Linked DNA regions of Homo sapiens: all the other regions are linked to region 2. The links are contacts of gene promoters, found by promoter capture Hi-C in blood cells and fetal thymus (Javierre and others, 2016). All regions are on one chromosome and are shown on one strand. Each heading gives the region's core, a stretch centred on a gene start or on the middle of the fragment in contact. The rest is flanking DNA. Distances are from core to core; before and after follow the strand shown.

What was found. The method cuts DNA at HindIII sites, captures the fragments that hold promoters and counts their contacts. A CHiCAGO score of 5 or more calls a contact.
Region 1: a fragment that was not itself captured here is called in contact with the fragment with the promoter of OR13A1 in region 2 in 6 of 17 cell types (M2 macrophages, monocytes, total B cells and 3 more); the score reaches 8.6 in M2 macrophages.
Region 3: a fragment that was not itself captured here is called in contact with the fragment with the promoter of OR13A1 in region 2 in 8 of 17 cell types (M0 macrophages, monocytes, naive B cells and 5 more); the score reaches 7.8 in M0 macrophages.

Annotation. Positions count from the first base shown.
Region 1 is chr10:45,423,694-45,426,427 of GRCh38, reverse strand. It overlaps ALOX5 (arachidonate 5-lipoxygenase), which reads right to left. Exons shown (of 14, transcript NM_000698.5): 5 at 2,281-2,387; 6 at 1,296-1,468. Among named protein-coding and RNA genes, the nearest start is that of ALOX5, 51 kb to the right of the region's middle. RefSeq lists an enhancer at 61-561. The HindIII fragment of the contact is 2,778 bases long and covers 1-2,712 here.
Region 2 is chr10:45,314,243-45,317,006 of GRCh38, reverse strand. OR13A1 (olfactory receptor family 13 subfamily A member 1) reads left to right here and starts at 1,399. Exons shown (of 4, transcript NM_001004297.3): 1 at 1,399-1,483. The HindIII fragment of the contact is 10,818 bases long and covers 1-2,764 here.
Region 3 is chr10:45,441,807-45,444,793 of GRCh38, reverse strand. It overlaps ALOX5 (arachidonate 5-lipoxygenase), which reads right to left. Exons shown (of 14, transcript NM_000698.5): 10 at 1,578-1,756; 11 at 1,257-1,378; 12 at 966-1,066; 13 at 508-678. It overlaps LOC102724323 (a long non-coding RNA gene), which reads left to right. Exons shown (of 3, transcript NR_120674.1): 3 at 1-226. Among named protein-coding and RNA genes, the nearest start is that of ALOX5, 69 kb to the right of the region's middle. RefSeq lists enhancers at 1,085-1,853, 1,854-2,624 and a silencer at 2,981-2,987. The HindIII fragment of the contact is 3,018 bases long and covers 1-2,847 here.

The DNA.
Region 1 (2,734 bases), core at 74-2,573, 110 kb before region 2:
TGGTGTGTATTAGACGGGGCAGTGTGTGTTTAAGAGTCTAGTCAGTGAGGGGTGGGTCAGCTCAAAGGAAAGGTGACTCATAACCCACGTGCCCTGGAGGTGGCCGGGACTCCCAGTGGGAGGCTGATGCCCTGCCAGGTGCTGAGGATGGCCACTCCTTGGCTGCTGGGTGCAGAGATGGCTGCTCAGAGTCTTCCAATTCTAGGATTCTATATGGCTTAAAGTTCTATGATCTCTGACTTGAAGTTTGAAACCTATAGCCACCAAATCAATGTTACTACATCTAGCAATTCAGTCCACTCAGGAACACAGATGCTCTCTCAGTGTGTGGGGGATTGTAACTGTCAGCTGTTCACATGACCAGGAAGTGTTCTGGGCCTGGTTGGGTGCAGGAGGAGGAGGAGGTTAGGAAACACTGCCTGCACTGGGGCAGGAGACTTGCCCAGGGACTTCAGCTGGGTGGGTGGCCCTCTAGATTCAGGTGGGCCAGGTACTGGGGCTGTAGGTTTATCTCTAAAGGGCACCAACCATCCCTCTCCAACTAGGGCCTCAGGGTAAGCTGAGCTCAAAAGACTGGAAGCAGCAGAGGCCACCTGGACACCTGGGGATAGGCAGCAGGGCCTGGGTGGCAGGAGGCCCCATCACGCTGGATCCATGGGGAAGAGGCAGGCTGATGGGCCAGCGCCTGTTGCTGAGCCCCACCAGATCCAGGTGGAGTTGGTTTGAACTTCTTCTGTCTCAAGACTAGGTCAGCCTTGCAGCCGGAGGCAGCTGAGTCTGCAGGTGAGGGTGGGGAGGAGGGTGCGACAGGAGCATGGGCAGCAGCATTTCTAACGAGAAAATCAACCATTCTGTTGGGTTTCTCCTCGTGCCCCTTTTTTATTCTCACACAAGGTCTGCTTCTTTCTCCAGTGTTCTCCCCTTTGCAAGGTGGGTGACAACTGATGACCTTGTGTGTAAAGCACCTGTCACAATGCCTGTCCCACCACAGGCCCCTAATCAAGGGTAGCTCCTGTAATTATTGATACTGATAGTGAAAATATTGACATTATGTTCCCAGACTCGAGCATCATGGAGAAACATTCCCCGCAATTCCTCCTCTGATGTTGCACAAGACAGTCTGCATAATGCCCAGGACCCTGGCTGACACTGCTGCCAGGAAAAGGAAGCGGCTGCTGTAGGCCAGATGGGCCTGCAGTTAGCGTCTTGGTGGCCTATGAGCACTGGCCAGGAGGAACTGGCTTCCACCTGACAGACTGTGACCTTGGCCACTTCCCCAGCCCATCAACCCCTACCTGGACCTCCTGCTCCAAGCTGAGCTGCCGCTCCAGGCTGCACTCTACCATCTCCGTGGTCACCGGGAGCTTCTCGGGCAGCTCTGTGCAGCGCCGGATCAACACAGGGTTGCAGCCATTCAGGAACTGGTAGCCAAACATCAGGTCTTCCTGCCAGTGATTCATGACCCGCTCTACCAGGAGAAAAGCGAGGCCCACCCTGAGCTCTGAGTAGAGGGCAGCCAGGGCCATGGCCCTCCTGACCTCACCTAAGAGCAGAGTCCCTGCTTGGTCTCCTCTCCCGAGTGCTCCCTGGATGGGCACAGCTCCAACTGCTGCCCCCTGCCCATCACTGGGTCAGGCTGTGGCACCAACTCATCATACCTGAGCTGGCCCTTCGTGGCTCAGAAGCCTCCTGGAGCACTCAGGTCCTTCAGCCCAGCATGGAGTGTCCAGGATGGAAGAAGGAGGGCGTGGAGGAGAGTCCCTGGGGGCAGTTTGCCAAGTTTGGTTCCCCATGTCCTGATTTCAGCACCTCTTCTTGTCCAGCCATTCCTGCCTTCCTAACGTCCTTCCCATGCCATGACTGGCCACTATGAAGCTAGTGCTCTCATCAAACACATCCTAGTCCAAAGGAACCCAAAGTTGCTTTTGTGTAAATACCTAAAACACAAGCCAAGTTCTGCCTTTGCTCTGTTCAGAAGCACAAATGATTGATTTGTGCCAAGAAAAAGTTCTGATACTTTTGAGACTTTTGATAGTGAAATGAGGTTGAGGGTGCTCGAGCTTGAATATCTGAGGAGGAGAAACCTCTGGGCACAAGGGTGACCACAGTGATGGTAAAAGGTGTGGAGTGTAGGGGGTGCTGTCCAGGGTGGCATGGTGGCAGCGAGGCCCCCATGCTGCAGCAGGCAGGAAGGCCCTTGTCAATTTCCCGGCAAGTATCAGACAGGAGAGCAGCATCCCCTGTCCCCAGCACCACTTGGGCCCCCAGAGGCACACTCACCAGAAATAGTGTTGCTGATCTTGACAAAGATTTTCTCAAAGTCGGCGAAGTCATTCCAAGAAGACTGGAACATGTGCATGAAGCGGTTGATGAACAGGTTCTCCATCCTGCAGACCAGGAGAGAGGTCACCTTGCGCACACTAGCCATGCCTCCCTCTGCAGAGCCCCTTCACACCAAGCTCTCAGGGGTCCTCACAACCCCCGCCCCCTCCAGGCAGCTCTGCAGAGGTAGGTGACTGGCTTTTCAGAACCAGGTCAGAAACTGGCATCTATACGGGATGCTGTTCTACTGCACCTCACCTGTCGAAGAGACAGGCCAGTACCCTCCAGAATAGCCTGCAGTGCCTTGAATTCCATTCACACATGTGTTCATTCATTCACTCATCGGGCACTTGCAGTCCCCCACTCGGTGGGCCAGTCCCTGAGAAAGCTTCTACGAACAGAGATCCAGCTG
Region 2 (2,764 bases), core at 150-2,649:
ATAGTAAACCACTCAATTTTTGTGAGGAGATATTACATTGTGGTTTTGATTTACATTTCTCTAATGATTTCCTTTCCAGTTTGGATGCTGAGCATTTTTTCTTATGTTTTTTGCCCATTCATATATAATTTTAAAAGAAATGTCTATTCAAATCCTTTTGCCATTTTAAAATCATATTATTTTTAAATATTGTGTTGTAGAAATTATTTATATATTCTGGATATTAACTCTTTATCAGATATATAATTTACTAATATTTTCTTCCATCCACAAGTTTTTTTTAACATTGTTATGTCCTTTAATGCATAAAAGTTTTAAAAAGTTTGATGTAGTCCCAATTGTCTATTTTTTCTTTTGTTGTCTGTACTTTTGGTGTCATATTAAAAAATAATTGCCATATCCCCTTATTCTAAGAGTTTTATAGTTTTAGATCTTCCATTTAAGTTTTAAATCCATTTTGAGTTAATTCTTGTATATGGCATAAGACAAAGTTTCAACTTCACTCTTTCATGTGTGGATATCCAAGTTTCCCAACACTGTTTGTTGAAGAGAATGTTCTTCCCTCATTGAGCGGATCTGGAATGCTGTAAATATTATTTGACCATATATGTGGAGTTTTCTTTTAATGGGTTCTTTATTCTATTCCATTGGTCTATATGTCTCTCTTTAAGCCAGTGTCATGCTGTTTTAATTACTGTAGTCTTGTAACATGTTTTGAGATCACGGAGCATGAGACCTTCAACTCAGTTAGTTTTCAAGATTGTCTAGTCAGAGTATATATGAATATTTAGATAAATTTTTCTCTTTTTTCAAAAAATGCAGCTTAGATTTTGATAGGGATTACATATAATTTGTAGACTGCTTTGGGTTCTATTGACTTTTCAAATTAATACATAATGTTGTACAGATTTGGGGAATACATCTGATATTTTGGAGATCTTAACATTAAATCTTCCAATCCATGAATACCAATGTCTTTACATTTATTTGTGACTTCTTTCAGTACTGTTTTGTAGTTTTCAGTGTACAAGCCTTTTATTTCCCTGGCTAAGTTTATTCCTAAGTATTTTACTATTTTTGATGGTATTGTAATTAAATTATTTTCTTAATTACCTTTGGATTGTTTATAGTTAATTTATAGAAAGGCAACTGATTTTTGTGTGTCGATTTTGGATCCTGCAACTTTCCAGAATTTGTTTAATAGTTCCAACAGTTTTCTGGATTTTATGCATATATGCATCTAACAGTTTTCTAGATTTTATGCAGGAGTCTAGGATTTTATGCATATAGGATCAAGTCATCTGTGAGCAGAGATAATTTTACTTTTTTCTTTTATTCTTTGGATGTCTTTTCTTGCTTAATTTTTTTTTCCTAATTGGTCTGCTTGGAAATTCAAATACTATATTGAATAGAAGCGAAGAGACAGAGTATACTTGTCTTGTTCCTAATCCAGAAGAAAAGTTTGAATCTTTTACCATTGAGTGTAAGTTTACCTGTGGATTTTTCATATATGGCCTTTATTATGTTATTTTCCTTCTATTCCTAGTTTGCTGAGTGTTTTCGTGATAAAAGGTGTTAAATTTTGTTAAACATTTTTTCTACATCAATATAAATGATCATGCTGTTTTGTCCTTTATTCTATTACTATAGTGTATTACATTGATTTTTGCATGTTGTATTATTCTTTTTTTTTGAGATGAAATCTCATTCTGTCATTCTGGCTGGAGTGCAGTGGCATGACCTCAGCTCACTGCAACATTTGCCTCCTGGGTTCAAGGGATTCTCCTGTCTCAGCCTCCCAAAGTGCTGGGATTACAGGCATGAGCCAGCACACCCTGCCACATGTTCTATCATTCTTGCATTCCAGGAATAAAGCCAACCTGATCATCACAAATATTGGTCTGTAGTTTTCTTTTCATGTAATGTCTTTGTTTGACTTTGAAATCAGGGTAATACTGGCCTCATATAATGAGCTTTGAAGTGTTTTTTATATTCATTTTTGTAAATGACTTTGAGAAACATTGGTTCTAATTCTTCCTTAAATGTTTGGTAGTCATCCGGTTCTGGGCTGTTGTTTGTTTGGAGGTTTTTGAACCAGTTTAATCTCCTTCGTAGTTATAAGTCTGTTCGTTTTTTCTACTTCTTCATGATTCACTCTTATTAGGTTGTATATTTCTAGAAATTTATGCACTTCTAAATTATCCAATTTGTTGACATATAATTAACTGTTGATGGTATTTTCTTATAATCCTTTTGATTTCTATGGCATGGGTTCTAATGTTCTCTTTTTTATTTCTGATTTATTAGTTGAATCTTTTTTCCTTAGTTAATCTAGCTAAGCATTTGTTAATTTTGTTGGTGTTTTCAAAAACCACCTCTTAGTTTTGTTGATTTTTTTCTATTGTTTTTATATTCTATATTTCATTTATCTCTGATTTAATCTAATCTTTAGGATTTTCCTCCTTCTGCTAGCTTTGGGTGTAGTTTTTTTTCTCTCCTAGTTTCCTGAGGTATAAAGTTAGGTTGTTGATTTGCAAACTTTCTTCTACTTCTTTTTTTTTTTTTCTTAAGTTGTGGAGATGGGGTCTTGCTTTGTTGCCCAGGCTGGTCTCAAATTCCTGGCCTCCAGAAGTTCTCCTCCCTCAGCCTGTCAAAGTGCTGGGATTGCAGGCATGACCCACCATGCCTAGCCACTTTCTTCCTTTTATAATGCACATATTTATAGCTATAAAATTCTCTGTTAGCACTGCTTCTGCTGCATCTT
Region 3 (2,987 bases), core at 89-2,588, 130 kb before region 2:
AGGGACCAACACATTGGCCGGGAACAACTCAGACACCCAGCAGTCTGGAGCAGGTTGGACTGGTCCGGCCATTCTATGCAGTACTGAGCTACCCCAAAGCGGGTGCATCCACGAAGACACACCGGATTCAGTTGTTAGGTTAAATGAGATGCACGTGTCCGGAAGGAACCCAGGAAACTCTTGGTCATTCCCTCTGGAGTACCAGGGTAAAACACATGTGCAAGAACTTTGTCAATAGCTGGGGGGAGGGGGCGTCACACACGACCCTCTGGTGACAGTGAGCAAAGCCTGGGCTGTGTGCTCTCCTGCCCTGCACACCCTGAGCTCTGTCCAGGCTGAGGCCGGGGGACCTGGTGGCGGCTGCAGCCTTCTGGGCCCTTCCAGCCTTGGAAGTCAGGATTCCTTTGCTCCAAGTGAGCCTTGGGGCCCGAGTCACAAAGCCCTGAGGCTGAGGAACCGCTTAACCTGGGGTGACCTGGGGCTGTGCCCCGCCCTGCCCAGCTTCACCTCGTTTTCCTGGAACTGGCTCAGCGCCCACACTGCACCCAGATGCCAGCAGGAGCGGCCGCGGTCGGGCAGCGTGTCCACGATCTGCTCAATGGTCACCACGCCCTTGGCAGTCGGTGGCGGGGCTCGCATGGTTGGGGGCGCATTGGGGATCCAGGAGCACCAGTCGTACTGCGGAGACGACCGCCAGCAAGCGTGGGCACCCCCGAAGCCCTGCTGCCCAGCTGCCCCCTGGGCCCCGTCCTCCCCGTGCCCCCCAACTCCAGCGGGCCCTGCAGTCCGTCCATCCTCTTTCCCCGCGGCCAGCGCCCTTGGCTGAGCGGGCAGAATCCATCCTGCAAGTCCCGTGCCAGGCCCCGAGGCTGTCCGAGGGTGCAGTACGCGTGCAGAACCGGGGCGGGGGAGGAGGCAGCGGCCTTGAGAAGGGAGCCCTGCCCAGCGGGCCCGGCCCTGCCTACCTGGCCGAAGTTGACCGCGGCGTGCTGGGCGGAGGCGGTGAAGATCACCACGGTCAGGTACTCCGACAGCTGCTCCCGGCTCTTGACCGACTTGGGGAAGCCTAGGGTGGAACCACCGGCGGGCTGAGGCCCAGTCCCTGAGGACCCCAGGGCCCGGCGCCCACCCCGTGCCCGGATTCCCTGCCCCAAGGCCGGAGGGCACCCTGGGCAGGACACCCCGGAGGGGTGGCGGAGGGGCCAGCGCTGCCGACTGCGGGGGAGCCGGGTCCGGAGACGTCCCGGAGGCCCTACCTGAGGACTTGCGGCCCCGCATGCCGTACACGTAGACATCGTTCACGAAGTCCTGCAGCTCCGGGTCCTCCTCCACCACCTGGTCGCCCTCGTAGTAGATGTCTACCACCTCGGCCGTGAACCTGGCTCAGGGGGCGCAGCCGGGGTGGGCGACCCAGCCAGGTCTGCGGAGCGGTGCCCGGCGGCAACCCCCTCACGGACGCTGGGACTCCCCCACCCCGTCCCCATTCAGCGCTAGCGGTGGAGGGGCCAGGCCCGCCCCAGGTAGTCAGGCAGGGGTCCCGGCTCCTCCCCCAGGACCACCGCCCCGCGGGCGCTCACGTCCTGATGGCTTCCCACACCAGGAGCCCGTCGTCCCGGTAGAAGTAGTAGGGGATGTCTTCTTTGCTCTCCATGCCCCGGGCCTTGATGGCCTCGGGAAAGCACAGGGAGGCATAGGTCAGGTCCTTCATGGCCCTCTGCACCATCTGCACGTGCCCACCGCCCCCTGTGGCGTTGGCCTGGAGTGGGAGGTAGAGTGCCCTGAGCGGGTGGCTCCTCCCACAGCTGTCCAGACCCATCCCTGAGGAAATGTGCCAGGGGAGGCGAGGAGGCCAGGCAGGCAGAGGTGCAAGCCCTTGTCCTGTGAGATGGGGGAGGGATGTTTAACGCAGAGAATGACAAGGGCAGCCGGGTGGAGAGGTGCTAGGGAGGAGCCTCCCGCCCAATCCAATGCAAGGGACTGAACCGTGGGGCTGCAGAGTACAAGAGGGAAGGGTGCGCTCCCAGCCACAGGAGGGCAGCAGGCGTGGGCAGGTGTGTGGGGGACCCCAGCACCAGCGGGCCTGGGCTGTGAAGTCTGCTCTAGTGCTGAGCACACGACCCTCAGTCATTGCTCTCAGTGACCCTCAGTTTCCAGGACCCATGCAACTCTGTTGAGGGCCTGTTGTGTGCTCAGGTGAGGGCTGGAGAGACCCACAAGGAGGGATCCTGGTCCTGATCCCGATCCCGGCTTCTGAGTGATGCAGACACACTCACAAGCTCACTGGCACATATGTGTGTCCACGTGCACACACACACATGCAAATACACCCAGGGGGCTGGGCTGTCGGTGCCACAGAGGTTTTGAAGAAGGACTTGGGTGCTGGGGTGCCAGAGATTGGTCCACGGTGGGCATTCAGCCCAAGCAGGACCAACCAGAGCTGCCCCCCAGCACTTTCTGTTTAGATGCGGCTGGGAGATAATGGCCACATGAGAACCTGAGGTGGAGCTACTATGATGAGCTCCTGTGCCCTCTCCCATGGGGGCCTGTCTGCAGCAGGAGAGTGTGATGCCAACACAGGTGAAAGAGACAGAAAGAGGGAGCCAGTGTGCATGCACCCTGGGGCATTGCTTGAGTCCCTGGATCCATTTCTGGCTGAGGCCCCCGACCCTCTATTGTGTCCAGGTATTTGAGATAAGGCATGTCTTGTCCAGCTGCAGCTGGTTTGAGTTGGGTTTTGTCATTTGCAGCCCAAACAGTGTCTCAACTTCAGTGGTCATCTGGCCTGGTCACTAATGGGCTGGGGAAAGGAGGAAGGTTGGGGCAAGGGCCCATGTGAGAGTCCAAGCTTGGTAAGGCTACAGAGGGCTCAAAACGAGGTGGGGTGCTACCTGAGGGATGCGAGGGCTGGGCAGGGCCTGGAGTCCCCGATGCAGGAGACAGTGGGTTGGGAGGGTTGGGACCCGGGAAGCAGAGTGCTGGGGAGGTCC